3 separate regions of the Homo sapiens genome follow, and all the other regions are linked to region 1. Evidence: promoter capture Hi-C in 16 types of primary human blood cells and fetal thymus (Javierre and others, 2016). All regions are on one chromosome and are shown on one strand. Each heading gives the region's core, a stretch centred on a gene start or on the middle of the fragment in contact. The rest is flanking DNA. Distances are from core to core; before and after follow the strand shown. Region 1 holds the start of ZNF703 (zinc finger protein 703). Region 2 overlaps KCNU1 (potassium calcium-activated channel subfamily U member 1). Region 3 has its middle 350 kb from the start of KCNU1.

What was found. The method cuts DNA at HindIII sites, captures the fragments that hold promoters and counts their contacts. A CHiCAGO score of 5 or more calls a contact.
Region 2: a fragment that was not itself captured here is called in contact with the fragment with the promoter of ZNF703 in region 1 in 11 of 17 cell types (megakaryocytes, naive CD4 T cells, naive CD8 T cells and 8 more); the score reaches 9.4 in megakaryocytes.
Region 3: a fragment that was not itself captured here is called in contact with the fragment with the promoter of ZNF703 in region 1 in 1 of 17 cell types (endothelial precursors); the score reaches 5.0 in endothelial precursors.

What each region holds. Positions count from the first base shown.
Region 1 is chr8:37,692,962-37,697,765 of GRCh38, forward strand. It overlaps ZNF703 (zinc finger protein 703), which reads left to right and starts at 2,821. Exons shown (of 2, transcript NM_025069.3): 1 at 2,821-3,261; 2 at 4,184-4,804. The coding sequence starts at 3,019. LOC124901932 (a long non-coding RNA gene) reads left to right here and starts at 969. Exons shown (of 2, transcript XR_007060887.1): 1 at 969-1,039; 2 at 1,454-1,822. It overlaps LOC124901933 (a long non-coding RNA gene), which reads right to left and starts at 2,720. Exons shown (of 2, transcript XR_007060888.1): 1 at 2,479-2,720; 2 at 1,784-2,022. RefSeq lists silencers at 1,460-1,644, 2,432-2,781, 2,832-2,931 and enhancers at 2,666-3,209, 3,210-3,752. The HindIII fragment of the contact is 16,475 bases long and covers 1-4,804 here.
Region 2 is chr8:36,868,850-36,873,653 of GRCh38, forward strand. The region is part of intron 19 of KCNU1 (potassium calcium-activated channel subfamily U member 1); the gene reads left to right. Among named protein-coding and RNA genes, the nearest start is that of KCNU1, 87 kb to the left of the region's middle. The HindIII fragment of the contact is 1,273 bases long and covers 1,839-3,111 here.
Region 3 is chr8:37,136,832-37,141,635 of GRCh38, forward strand. No RefSeq gene overlaps it. Among named protein-coding and RNA genes, the nearest start is that of KCNU1, 350 kb to the left of the region's middle. The HindIII fragment of the contact is 5,325 bases long and covers 196-4,804 here.

The sequences.
Region 1 (4,804 bases), core at 1,571-4,070:
GGACAGTGGAAGGCCCCTGAGCCACGCATCTGCCACTTTTTTGCAGAGGGAGAACCTGTGTCATATGTCCTGAACAGGGATGTCTTACTCGGGCCTTCCAACCACATCGCCCTCCATAAACACAGCCCATCTGAATACAGAGCCACATTCCCTCCCAGGTGACAAGCCATTCCTCTGAAAACTACACTTGCCTTCAGGCCCCGAGGGCCCCATTTAGTGCTCTGTATAGGTTAGCATTTTAGCTAAGTGAATGGTGAATCCCAATTGTAATAATCATCTAGCAGTGTTTTAATTAGGCCTCTGGCCTGGCTATGCATGGTTTTTCATTTTCCCTCCTAAGACGTTTGGATGGATCCAGCCAAAGAAACCCTGCTGCCCTGACCAGCAGCTCAAAGTGTGTCCCTCCCGCCTTGCATGCTTTCAGAGGTGTGTCCTACCACTTCCCAGGAGGTGGGAGCAGGCCAATCTGTGTGCCCGTCAGTAATTACCACTGGGAGCTCAGGGAGTGAGGTGTTTTTAACAGGACAGTATAGTATTACCTAGGCAAATCCCCCATCACATCCTGCCAGTCTGTCCTTACCTCCTCTTCTCTCCCTTCCTTTCCTTCATTCACTACCTTTTTCCTTCTCTTTTCCTCTCCAAACAGAGAGTGAATATTCTATTGTCCTCTCTCTTCTCCCCTCTCTCCTTTCAGCTGCCTCCTGCTCTGTTTTCCAAATTCCTAAATACCTCTTCCCTCTCCCCTCCCCTTTTCCTCCTGACTTATTTCCCATTAATCATTTCTAACACACATCTGCTCAGGCCCTAGAAGGATCCCTTGGCTCCCTCTCACAGCTGGGCTGGTTACAATAATCAGGGAGACTTTCATCTTTCATAGCCTCCTAGGTCTCCCCTCTGCCCAGCTCCTCCTCCTCTGCGTTCCTGCAAAGGCCAGCCTCTCTGCACCCTGGCTTCCTTCTGCCCTTCCCGCTCTACACAGCAGTCTCCCGAAGGCAAAATGGCTTGTGGGTGGACACAGCCCTGCAGTGGACTTTTACAGGTGGTGTTTGCAGTGATGGCAATGGCTGCCCGCACAGAAGTCGGCATGAGAAGCCTGCCACGATGAAATAAATGAGATCACTCCCTCCCTTTTCATTCCCGCACCCCTCTTGCTGCAATGTGGGATCCATCTCACAGTCAGGGTACCCCTTTCCATTCGGCGTAACATGATTTTACCAAGATTAAAATTGGGGAACATGTAATTACAGCTTGTGTAATTTCTAAGCATTCTATAAGTGCTGCCCAAAATACAGTATGGATCCAGGGAGTGCACTTAGTTTTGGGTATGACTGATACTGCCTGGAAGTGGGGTCTGCTGTCTTCTACTACTGGGCAAGATACAGATTCGTGATAGCTATTTCTTTCTGTTTGAAGAGCTCCTTTGAAATCACCTCTCCCCATCTTGGGTTCTCAGGTCATCTCAAGGCGTCGGTCAGCGCGGCAGAGTCGGGAACCTGCCATCCTAGAGCAATACGCCCCGAGTGACAGCCCTGACAACCGGAGTGATGGATCGGGACTGGAAAAGTGGTGCTGGGAGCCAGGCAGTGACACCAGCGCGCCTCCACTGGCCGCCGAGCGCACGGAGAAGTGGGCTCCCCAGAGTTCGGCACCCAAAGGACCAACTTCGCCTCCGGAAAAGCGGCGGATCCGGAACTTGGATGTCAGGACTATGACTACGTAAAATCTCTGCCCAGGGCGAAGCTAGCAATGCACACTGTATCAGAAAGGCGCAGGGAGTCGGGAAGGGTATTGTTATTTTTAATTAAAAGTTTTTATCCCGAAATTTGCCTGGGGAAAGCAAGTGCTTTTTCCCCCGGAGTGAGAAGGATGGGGGGGCGGAGGGGTTGTGTTGCCGAGCAGCGCTTAGAGAGAGATCCCCCTCCAGGGACACCCGCCTCGCCCGTGATCTCGGTCTCTCCTCGTAGCAGCTGGGCGCGGTACAGTGAGGAACTTCACGCCCCTCAGCAGGACACGGTAAGAAGCCTGTAACACACCAGACACCGAGCCTCTAACGCAGGGCGCAGGCACAGCGCGCACAGCCTGGGGTCCCGCGCTTGGTCGCCGACCATGTCACTCCAGAAGGGAGACAAACTTGCAGGCTTCAGACAAGACGGGCTCAAAGTAGTTGGAGCTGCCTACGCCGCGTCCCGAGAACAGTGGGTGCCTCCGAGGCTCGGGCGCTTCCAAGTGAACACACCAAGGGGAGGCCAAGTAGGGGAAGGAGAGCGGGGCCGAGGAGAGCCGGAGCAGCTCTGGAGAAGGACCCGGGCTCCCGAGGCGAGGCCTGCCCCCAGGCGGCCTCTGGGAGAGGCTTGAACTCCAGCGTCCCAGAGCCCGCGCCGTGCGATCCCTCCCACCCCACCCCACCCCACCCCACCCCACCTCGGACACACACGGCGGGCGGGGTTACAGCCCCCGCCAGCATCACCCCCCACCCACCCAGTGGTGAGAAGGGAGAGAGGAGAGAGAGCGGCCGGAAAGGAGGACGGGGCGCAGAGCTCAGGGTCCCGGAGAAGTCCCGTCCCAGGCGGGGGACCCCAGGGCGAGGAAGGCCCAGTCGGGGGGAGGGGAGGAATCCCGGGAGCGGCCGAGACCGAGGCAGCGGCGGCGCGCGGCGCGGCCCCTTTAAGGCTCTCCCCGCCCACCGATGGAGCCGGCCTCAGCCCGCCGCTCTCCCCGCCCCGGGGTCCCGGCGAGAGCTGCGATTGGGCGGGCGCGGCGATCCCTTTGAAGTGTGGCTGCCGATCGCGGCTATTTGACGTGCGGCTCGAGGAAGGCGAAGGTTTTTGTGTTGCTAGCCGGGGCCAGCGGCGGTGGCGGCGGCGGCGGAGGCGTCGGTGGAGGAGGGGAGGCGGCGAGGAGGCGCAGCTCCCGCTGCACCGCGATCGACGCTGCGGAGCGAGCCCACCCGCCCCGGGAGCTCGCCTCCCCGGTGCTCCCCCGCCCTCCCCGCCCCCCCAGCGGCGCTGCCTCCTCCAAATGAGCGATTCGCCCGCTGGATCTAACCCAAGGACACCCGAAAGCAGCGGCAGCGGCAGCGGCGGCGGCGGGAAGAGGCCGGCGGTGCCGGCAGCGGTGTCCCTCTTGCCACCGGCGGACCCCCTGCGCCAGGCGAACCGGCTCCCGATCAGGGTCCTGAAGATGCTGAGCGCTCACACCGGTCACCTCCTGCACCCGGAGTACCTGCAGCCGCTGTCCTCCACTCCCGTCAGCCCCATTGAGGTCAGTCCCCGGCCGCTGCCCCCGGGCGCCGGCCCCATTCCTCCCACCGCGACCGGGACCCTGACCCAGCTCCCAGCGCCCCGGGGCTCGGTGCGACACCCAAGTCTGGTCACGCTGGCGGGCTGAGTGAGGAGGGGAAGAAAACCGAGGGATCAGAGCCCACCAGGGCTTCCCCAGGCTTCCCCGTGGAAGGGTCTCCTTCCACGCTCGCCCTTCGGAGCTCCGTGTTTTCTCTCGGATTGGATTTGCTCCTGGAGTCCCCTCTGGGTCCTTTACTTTTCCTCTGATCCCCAGTTTCCAGCCAGGAGTTGGTCTCTGCTGGGTCTTCCCCGCCCCCCACGCCGGGCTGTTTTCTTTGAAGCCCTGGCTGCCCGGGTCCCACTTCGCCTCTGTCCCATCCGGTGAGGGCGCACGGCGCCCTGGCGCTCCCGATCCCGGATCTTTCTTCCTGCCTCTTCCCTGGGTGCCCTCCCCGGGAGGGAGGGGCTACGGAGAGAGCGCCAACTGCAGCCCCTCCTTTAGAATCCGCGCTCCCCTCTCCTACCCCGCGGCGCCATCGCCAGAAACCCGTCCCAAGCGAAGTTCCCCCAAACTAAAGGAATAAGTTTTTTCCTGGGCCTGGAGGAGGGGGACATTAGAGGGAAGTGGCGAGTCACAGCCCCGACTCCAGAGACGTCACCTTCTCCCGCAGGGGTCCTGGGTGAACTCCTTCCGCAGGGCCTGCGGCGCACCCCGGGACCCAGCGGCAGTGTGGGCGCAGTTCCGCCAGCTGCCGCGCCCGGCCCGGCCCTCGCTCGCAGACCCTCTCCCCAGGCCCGCCCCGCCCCGTGGCGCCGCCGCCCAGCTCCCCGGGCGCCCCCGCTCGCCCCGCAGGCCTCTGAGTCTCACTCCTTCTCCCTCCCCCTGCTTCTGTCTCCCACAGCTGGACGCCAAGAAGAGCCCCTTGGCGCTGCTGGCTCAGACCTGCTCGCAGATCGGCAAGCCGGACCCGCCGCCCTCCTCCAAACTCAACTCGGTGGCGGCGGCGGCCAACGGGCTGGGAGCGGAGAAGGACCCCGGCCGCTCAGCCCCGGGCGCCGCCTCCGCAGCCGCGGCCCTGAAGCAGCTGGGGGACTCACCGGCCGAGGACAAGTCCAGCTTCAAGCCCTACTCCAAGGGCTCCGGCGGCGGCGACTCCCGCAAAGACAGCGGCTCCTCCTCGGTGTCTTCCACCTCCTCCTCGTCCTCCTCGTCCCCGGGAGACAAGGCGGGCTTCAGGGTCCCCAGCGCCGCCTGCCCGCCCTTTCCCCCGCATGGAGCGCCGGTCTCCGCATCCTCGTCCTCGTCGTCGCCCGGCGGCTCCCGCGGCGGCTCCCCGCACCACTCTGACTGCAAGAACGGCGGCGGGGTTGGCGGCGGGGAGCTGGACAAGAAAGACCAGGAGCCCAAGCCCAGCCCGGAGCCGGCAGCCGTGAGCCGCGGCGGCGGTGGGGAGCCCGGGGCGCACGGTGGCGCCGAGTCCGGGGCCTCCGGGCGCAAGTCCGAGCCGCCCTCGGCGCTGGTG
Region 2 (4,804 bases), core at 1,225-3,724, 820 kb before region 1:
TTTCTTTTCAGGGAGATAAAGTTAGACCTGTGCAGTGTTTTATAGTAAGTGAAAATGAATCTCATTCATTTCTGGAGCTCCCTGGTCCTAGCTTCCAATTTCTTTACCTTGGCCATTCCACTTTGGGTGAGTTACGACAGTTTTGCCCATTCTACCTATTACACAATTATTTACTATTCTCTGCTTCTTCTCTATCAAAACTCTCTTCTTTAGTAAAACTGATTTTAATTAGATATTAGAAAGAAAAGTTTTAGATACAACTGATTTGTATGATGTTGTGACTAATAACACCATAACCACAATAAATTATCCAGCTTTCTAAAAAGTAGGTGCGAATAATCTCAAGTGAGTAGTGAAAGATATTTAATCGGTGAAACAAGGCAGAAATTTCCAAGCATTGTATAACAGACCTGGGCCAGGAGAGGAAAACGTTTTTAATAGAAATGCTTGTTTTGTTTGGCCCTATCACACTTTCCCTGGAAATTCTCCCTATTGGGTCTGCTTAAGTCAACTTATGGCCCATATTGAAATCTAAATACTTTTCCATATAACATCCTTTCTCACCATGTCTTAATGGTATCTATGAATGAGATCACATTTATAATATCAACTTCATCTCCATCCTCTTTATGTTCTTTTACAGATACCAGGGACCGTAAATGCTATTTTTTTCTCTCTTTGCCAATGTCCAAGTCAGCCTTAGTTCTTTCAAGGATAAGTGGTCCACAAATATTAGCCATGAGCAATAGCACCTATGGCAGACATGAGCTCCAGATCGCCATCTTCTTAGCTTATAAGCTTCAGTTTTCTCATCTGTAAAATGAGATGATATTAGAATCTAATTGAAATGTTGTGAGGATTGGTTGAGACAGGACTGATTCAATTCTTATGTAGTGCCTAATATACATAGTGAAAATACAGCAAGTGAAAAATGTTTCATGCTGTTGTTGTCATTGTATTTCCTGTCACCCTCTGCCGTCATGTCTCTGGTTCTTAGACTTCTACGTTTTTGCTACCACTTTCTTTCACATTTTAGTGGAGAGGTTACAGAGTTCAAGACCTCGCAAGATTTAATTCACTGTCTACAACCACCATCTATAGACCACCAGCCTGACAAGCATACCAGCAGGGTTTTCAGTGAAGATCTACGATGCAGTAGTTACCATTGGTAAGGTCACTTTGCCATGTCCAAGTCGGCCTATAGCTTGCCATTCTCCCTCCAGAACATTCTTTTCCATGGCAATTCCAGCTCCTTCCTTGGCTATTTTCTAGTGCCTTCCAGTAATCCTATGGCAGTCTTTCATTTCCAACCAAACTGTAGTCCATCCAGAAGGACTGCCAGGATAGGCTTTGCCAAGCTGGAAGCTTGCTAGTAAGTAGTGCACTGGCCATAAAGATGTAAGAGGTTCAATCCAACTGGGATAAGTTGTTTGTTTCTTTTCTGGCACATCTATTTCCAGCCCTACATAATTTATGCTCACGCATGACTCCTGAGACACCTGTCCCTATGACCTCTTATTTTCATGCCCCCTCTGCCATACATACCCTGTTGTCTCAGGAAAAGAAGCTGAGCCCTTCCTCCCTTTTTACTCTCAGTTCTGTACACTTTATCGAATTCTGTGTTCCAAACTATTCAGGCAAGAGAATCCCCATCTTTTAGCCTCAATGATGTCTGAACTCCTACTGAGAGCCAGCCTCTGAGTCCACCTAGTGGGGGCAGAAGATCGGATACAAATCACCGTACATGGCTCTTTTCATGTCATATCTGAGCTTTCTACAGAAACTGATCAGATGAGATTATCTGAGCAATTCCTTTTATCCCTTCTTATTTTATATTAAGCTTTTAAAACTACTTTCCCTCCAGACAAGCATAGGCTTTCCTATTTGAGTGTAATGTAGCCCATAACTAGTAAATCAAAAGCATTCTCTGGTTCTTTCATTCATATAAGCCTACTGAGTGATGCCTTTACTGTAGCATTTCAAATCATGTTCTGGAAATCTACATTCACTTAACACTATATGGCCAGTATTTCATCTTTCAGAGTTACCTTTCCCCAAGAGTCCCATTGGCACTTATGTTTCCCATTCTATGGTTTTCCACCTGAGATTTTAGAACCTTTAAAATATGCTTTCTCTCATTTTAATTGATGGTATAATTTGGGACCACCAGAATCCCTAGCAGGGCTATGTGTCTGCAATGAAGTTTAATAAATATCTTCATCAGGTCTCAATAGCAAGACCAAAGAAGACAGCAGGACTAAATATATTCTCATATAATTATAGGGATAATCTAGAGGTAGGATTGAAAATATACATACACATATACATATAAAAACTATACTTTTAATCACAATGAGCCTGAGTTCCAAAGACAGATGAAAGAGTTAGGGTGGCAGGGAATATAAGAATAAGAATTTTGAAAAGATGACTAGATATTTTCCTTCAGATCCTCTAAATACCTCTTTTCTAGTTCTTATTTTGTATTCATAGGTGAAAATCCCATTTTTGGGAAGCAATGTGCCACAATCCTAGCAAAGTACCATATATATATATATATACATAGAGAGAGAGAGAGAGCGAGCAATAATTCATCAGGTATGTATTGAATAATCTGATTCTTTAGATTAACAAACAAAATTTTATTGTTATTGCTTAAAAATAGCAGAAAAATAGCTTCAGGCTTCTTAAAAGCATCAGAATTGTACCATAGAAAAGTCAGCATCTCTCTTCGTTACTGTCATCTCCCTCATCCTGCCTAGCTTCACAGACTATAATAAAGGAGAGACAAGGCATTTTGTAAATATCTTTGTGAGTCTGTGGACAGGTCTTTTAAAAAACTAAAAACAAATTCTCCTGGAATTACGGGTATGGAAATTGATTTGGCTGGGTGCTAAGATGAGGAAGTGGCCCTCAGATCATTGCGATAAAAATTACTATGGGATGACTGATCATTTACTGAGTGCATATATTTATTTGCATTAGTTAACTACTATTTGCATGCTTTTATTCTTCATTTCATTTATAATCTCCTAAAAGGCAGGAATGAGACCTTGTCTGTTTAGGGTCATATATAAAAGACCAACTCTATAAGACAAAGTGAAGGTTATGCGAAGCTTAGTCACTGTTTCTAAGTAAAACTCTCTTCAAGGCCTTGAGACATGACTTGCATAGTTTCCAAGAAAAAAAAATGTGAAGTAGGCAAATCGCACTGATTTTCACTTTGTGTTATTTGCCCTCTGAGTAACACCTTATCATCATCTTTCTCAGGGGCTCACAGTCCCCAGGTATTTAAATGTCCTCATCAACATCTATTATTTAAAACTTCATTTGCAAAAACAGAAGAATAAAATATTAACCCTTCTGGGGCAGCTTCCCTTTCATCATGGATCAGGGACTTCAGCTAAGGAACAAAGCCCTAACTAACAAATTTCAGGTGTCAACGTATAGGGGAGGTATAATTTTAGGCAACATCCAATAAGAGTCTTCTATGTACATCCAATACCACATCTCGAAGCCTATCGCATGCTATGCTATGTTAGCTTTTTGGCTTCAGAAAGAGAGATAAAGGGGGACGCCGCCCCGCCCTGTAACTATGGTGGGGGCTCCAGCAGTAAACTGTAGATTGTCAGATCACAGCTCTGTGATGTTCATGCTCTGTGACCATAAGCAAGTCACTTACTGTCCTGTGGCTCAGATCCCCCATCCAGTAAAATAAATAATACAATCTCATAGAAATGATGAGAAGATTAAGTATAAGACTTTGAGAGAAGTTCCCAGCATTGAGTAGTAAGCCTTCAATAAATGCTAGCAATTATCACTACACAAGAGTCAGGAGTTTCCCATAAAATAATTGAAGTCAAGGTCTGGAGAGTCACCACAAAGCAGCTTTCTGCTAATATTAAAATTCTGCATTTGTGCTAACACCAACAGTTTGAGTAGGTAAGACAGAGGACTTAGAGATGAATGTTATTTCAATTAACATCTTGGGCTGGGTGCAGTAGCTCATGCCTGTAATCCCAGCACTTTGGGAGGCCAAGGTGGGTGAATCACCTGAGGTCAGGAGTTTGAGACCTGCCTGGCCAACATGGTGAAACCCCGTCACGCCTGTCATCCTAGCTACCCAGGAGGCTGAGGCAGGAAAATCACTTGAACCTGGGAGGTGGAGGTTGTAGTGAGCCAAGATTGCACCATTGCACTCCAGCCTGGGCAACAAGAGCGAAATTCCATCTCAAAAAATAAACTAACCAACCAAACAAACAAAAAACCCCAACAATTTACATCCTGTGGGGGTGGCAAAGTGGCAGCAGAACTCACCTTTAGTAATAAGAGAGGTAGACCCTGTCTCATTCTCCCCAGGAAGCAATGTGGTCCTTGCCTACTAAGAATAATTACTTTCTTTCTTTCCTTCCCCTGGCCCCAACCCCCACCCCTTTCTTTAAAGATATGAGAATGTAAGAATTCTCCACCTATATTAGACCCATGCTTGGCTCCTAAGACCACGCCAGTTTTGATAGTGAAAGTCAAAGACACAACCATAATTGTCCTCCTCAACTTAGCATCAAATATAATGGCTGTTTACCCAACACTATAAATTATTGGCTTACACAACACAATATATTATTGGCTTTTATACAATTATTTATACGTTTTAAAATAAACATCAGGAACAAGTGAGTGTGGAATCTGTAACAATCCCCATTTAATTGGGAAAATCTTTCTTGCTAAGAGAGGGTTAAGAAAAGGCACTTTTAACAAATTCTTCTCCTTGAACGCCCTTTTCTCTCCCTGCTCTCTGTTCCACAGC
Region 3 (4,804 bases), core at 1,608-4,107, 560 kb before region 1:
TGATAATAAAGGCAGGTATTGAAGGAAAAAAATCTATTCTGGCAACCTGAGGTTACAAAATGAACCAGGAATCTAAACTGGAAATGCAATCACCTCTGAGTGGTATATGTTTTACAAGCAAATACTTATTCTTGTCATCCATTCCTGTCCCTCAAATTGAGGCATACTTGTATTCTGGAAAGCTGGAATCCCGGAAGCTTTGAAACAAGGCTGACTTGGACTCTAATCCCAAATCTGATAGGTACTACTTGTGCTGCCTTGGGCAAAAACCTTGAAGATTTCCAGTTTCCACAATTGGGCAACAAGGATACTAACTTCTAAGATTAGGCTATAATTGCTTAATACAAGGAAACTGTTATGATGATAATAACAATAATAACATTGTAACATCATCATCATCATTAATAGCACCATTGTTAATTATAAGACAGTTATTCAAATAAAATAAAGGTCACAATTGAGGTTTTAAGGAAGTGAAGGAGAAGATAGAATCTGTTCCACAATTTTACACTTTCCTCAGGTCACTCTGATCTCTTGAAAATAAATTTCATGATTGGAGAAAAGAGCACCTCATAATGAATGTTAATAAACAGGACTGCAACTTCAAAATCCACATAAATTAGACCAAAAAATGCAAAAAGACATGGAAGTACAGAGGATCTCCCTTAGTCAATGCTGCCAAAAATGCTATTATGTATTCACCCAACTGGAGTTCCTTCTAACAAACTGCCACTGAGCATATGGCTACCTTGGGCATTTTTTCATTATCCCAGAGTGTGTCTGCAGTCCCATGTCGGTAAACTCCATCTGTATCTCTGTCAATGGAAGAAATTTCCATCAGGAAATATCAGCAGGCATCAGGGAAAGACCTTTCCAATTTACTGAGATCGAAGGAAGTAACTGCAGGGTTCCCCTCTCTCGCCTCCCTTTTTCTCCAACTCCAGCCAAAAAATGTCTTGTTTTCTTTCCCAAAGATTATCCCATCGCCCACCCCTGCCTGCTCAGGGGGAGTCTCTGGATGGTCCTTGGGCACATGGTGCTGCACGTGATGTACTAGTTGTATTCTGGGTCACCCAGCCCCTTCAACTCACCACTTAATAGGAATAAAGAGAAGAGCAGGCGAAAATGGACCTCCCACTTCTCTCAGATGCTGCACCAAGAGAATGCAAAGAGAAACAGCTCTGGGTGCTTTGTTGCTGTTGCTCTAGTTATTTTAATCTCTTCATGCTGCACAGCACCCATCAGGGACCAAGTTGCAGGCAGGTTTTAACATCAAAGGCAGTGATGAATGTAATGTACCCTTCTGGGCAGGGCAGGAGCCCTTGCTGGGCAGTGGGTTGGGTTGGGGGAAAGGAGGGTGCAGGGGTGAGGCAGGTAAGTGAGGGAAGCATGCACCAGTGATTAAATGTGGGAGCAAGAGCATTAAAAAATGTCAGTCCCAGGCTCCCTTCTGTGTATCTCACAGCCTGACCATTACATCTCAGTTGCATATTGAATGTGACCCTTACATTCACAATGCTTCCCTGATATTTTTCACTGTAGACTTAGACAACCATCGTGTCAATGTACTAGTTTAAAAGTTTAATATTGACTATGCTGCTTTTAGAAAATAGACTCAGGGTCAGAACAGCCCCATTTCTCTATTCTCTTCCCTCTCTATACCCCAAATAAGAGCAGATCAATGGCAGAGATGAAATAGATTGCATATTGACATTCCTGGGGATAATTTCTCCATATACAAATATGTCAATTTATCTCATGTATTTATTTTTTAATTTACTTACATGTAGATTTATATGAAGGATATACTTAAGCCTCCAATTACCCATGTCAACATTATAGCTCTCCATCGCCCTGAGAGGAATGCACTGGGAAAAAGGTTCACTATTTTGAAAATCCCATTAATAACACAGGCCCCATTTGGGTGTTATTTGCAATGAGAGTCTCATTGAAAAAAGAACCTCCAACCAATTATCTTTGGACTTTATAGAACTTTGGACTTCCTAGAACCTATGAAGTTCATAAAAACTAATTGTAATTATTCCTGAGTCCAAAACAATGGAAAGAAATACTTGGAGTAGGATTTTACAAGTTTATCTACTTAAAACAAAACAAAACAAAACAAAAATGGAGCACTGGGAAAATGTTAGCCAATTACAGTATGCATTTGTGTATTCATACCCATAAATATCCACCAGCAGAGGACGTCACAGGTCTAGCCCTCTGCCATGAATGTCTAAGTTCCTACCACGCATCTCAGGCCCATACACTGGAGAGAAGGGGAGGGGGAAACCAAGCCAAGCCCAGCAACGGAAGACACAGCACACTCTCATCCCAGCCTTCATAGACCCCTTTCTTACAGTACATCAGAAGTCACTAGTAAAATTAAAATTCTTTCTCAACAAGATATGCTATATTCTCACCTTCAGTTGGATATTCAGAGTGAAAACTAGAATAACAATTCACCATTGCCCTGGCCCAAAGCACATCCAATCTTTTTCCCCCAACTCCCATATCATTTTGGCAAAGTATCATAAAACTGCTACCAAAGCCGAATCTATTTCTATAGCTAGCTATCCATCTACATATCTTCATTGCCTACAAAATAGTAAATATAAATGCTTTTGCATTTTTATTTGTTCTAAACCTACCCTCTTTTTTTTGTTTGTTTGTTTTTTTTGTTTGAGACAGAGTCTCGCTCTGTCGCCCAGGCTGGAGTCTCACTCTGTCGCCCAGGCTGCAGTGCAGTGGCGCAATCTTGGCTCATTGCAAGCTCTGCCTCCCAGGTTCACGTCATTCTCCTGCCTCAGCCTCCCGAGTAGCTGGGACTACAGACGCCCGCCACCAAGCCCATTTTGTATTCTACTAAAAATACGGGGTTTCACAGTGTCAGCCAGGATGGTCTCGATCTCCTGACCTCGTGATCCACCTGCCTCGGCCTCCCAAAGTGCTGGGATTACAGGCATGAGCCACCGCGCCCGGCCAATCCTACCCTCTTTTTAAGGTCCAGCTCTCTCATTTTGGAAATAACTTCTTCCTCTGAACAAGTGCAGTGCTCACTGTTTATATCTCTAATTATTCTTATCTCTTTCCATCTCATGATACATTCACTTATATTCATGTCTCATTTCTCAAAGGGAAAATATTCCATTTCTTGAGTATAAAATCCATAGCTGTTCCTTCTCTGTACTTCTACAACACCTACTTTTCTTTAACATTTAGAAGGCCCCCAATAAATGTTGTTTGTATCAGTGAACAAATAAATAACTTTTAATTATGCTAAATAAATGCAAGGTATCATTTATAATATAGAAAAATGCATGTTCTATCCACGCAGGTGGATGTAAAATGACAACGTGACTCTAAAAAATAGAAAAAACTTGGCCTGGGCATGCACGGAAAAACAAATATAAGGGGCTCAACAGGAACAAACTGCAAAATCCCAAGCTCTCTTCTATCTGCAGCTGTCCCTTCTCTTGAAATTACTTCTTGCCACAGTGATATAGGACTCGCACTGCTCATTGGGATACACAATCCATCTTCAGGAGCCCATAGTCACAGGAAGAAGAGAAGAGGAAAAAAATTCCTAAGCACATTTCACCCATTGGTTTTGATCCTCAGCCAAGGCCGTCCACCTGCAAAAATTCCCCAACTATCACATTTCTACTGCTTTGGCTGATAACGAAGATAATTGTTTCATCCACTTTGTCAAAGCTGAAATGAAAAGAGGGCAAAGCAAAATGATGCCATCACAAATCACCAGGCTGAGACAGCAAAAGAGGGACAAGATAGCAACTTCATTAAGGGTTATGTATTGTGCCATTAAGTTGGCAGGGGGGTCACCTTTTCTGTCACACCCGGCCTCTGTGATGCATTGCCAGCTCTTCTTTCCAATAAAATTAAACGGAGATGTAAAACTGATTAGGGCCATGTTTGCTTCAGCCTGTGGCAAAGGGAATGGTACAGGGAATAATTGATATAAGATTGCAACTGATGCATAATGACAGCAATTTCTCTTCCTGGTCATTTCATTGCTGACCTTGCCCATTAAAATAAGCTCAGCTGCCTTGGAGAAAGAGACACTTCATTTCCCATCATCCTGTGGCCCCATGGCATCTCCCATTTCCCCCAATCACCAGCCTTCACCAAAACAACATAGCTAGAAATGCTGCAAGCTAGAGATTTGGAGAAGCAGCTGGTTCACATGGATATGCATTGCAGATCCTTCATGCCACTGATAGCATGAACTCCTTGACTCCCCAAATGGTGGCTTCAGACAATTCTATGCTTCACTAGTTTTTAAATCCTGCCATGCTGAACATCAGGTTATTGGCCCGTTTGGTCTGAGCCTCAGACTCACCACATGAGGACCTGTCTGTGTATTCTGTCATTGCTGAGGTATGGAAGCTACTGTAAGCATAGAAATGACTGACTTTATCCTCACAATAACAAATCATGTCTTCTAATGCTTTATGAACTCAACAATTTAGACAGTCTCCATCCAAAGCGTACCCATTATTCAATCAACAAATATTCATTAGAGGTCTATTAGGTACCAAGCACTGTGCTAAACATTGACAATAGACAGTTATGTCCCTGCCTTCATGGGGCTCACAGTTGAGTGGCATTTTCCACTGGAATAATATGGATGGCTCATGTGTGTTGAATGTTTATTATGTGCAAAGCACTATTCTATGCAATTTACATACATTAACTCATGTAATCTTCATAGTACCAATAAAGTATTATTATTATCCCCATTTTACAGATAAGAAAACAGAGAAGGAAGAGGCTAAGTACCCTG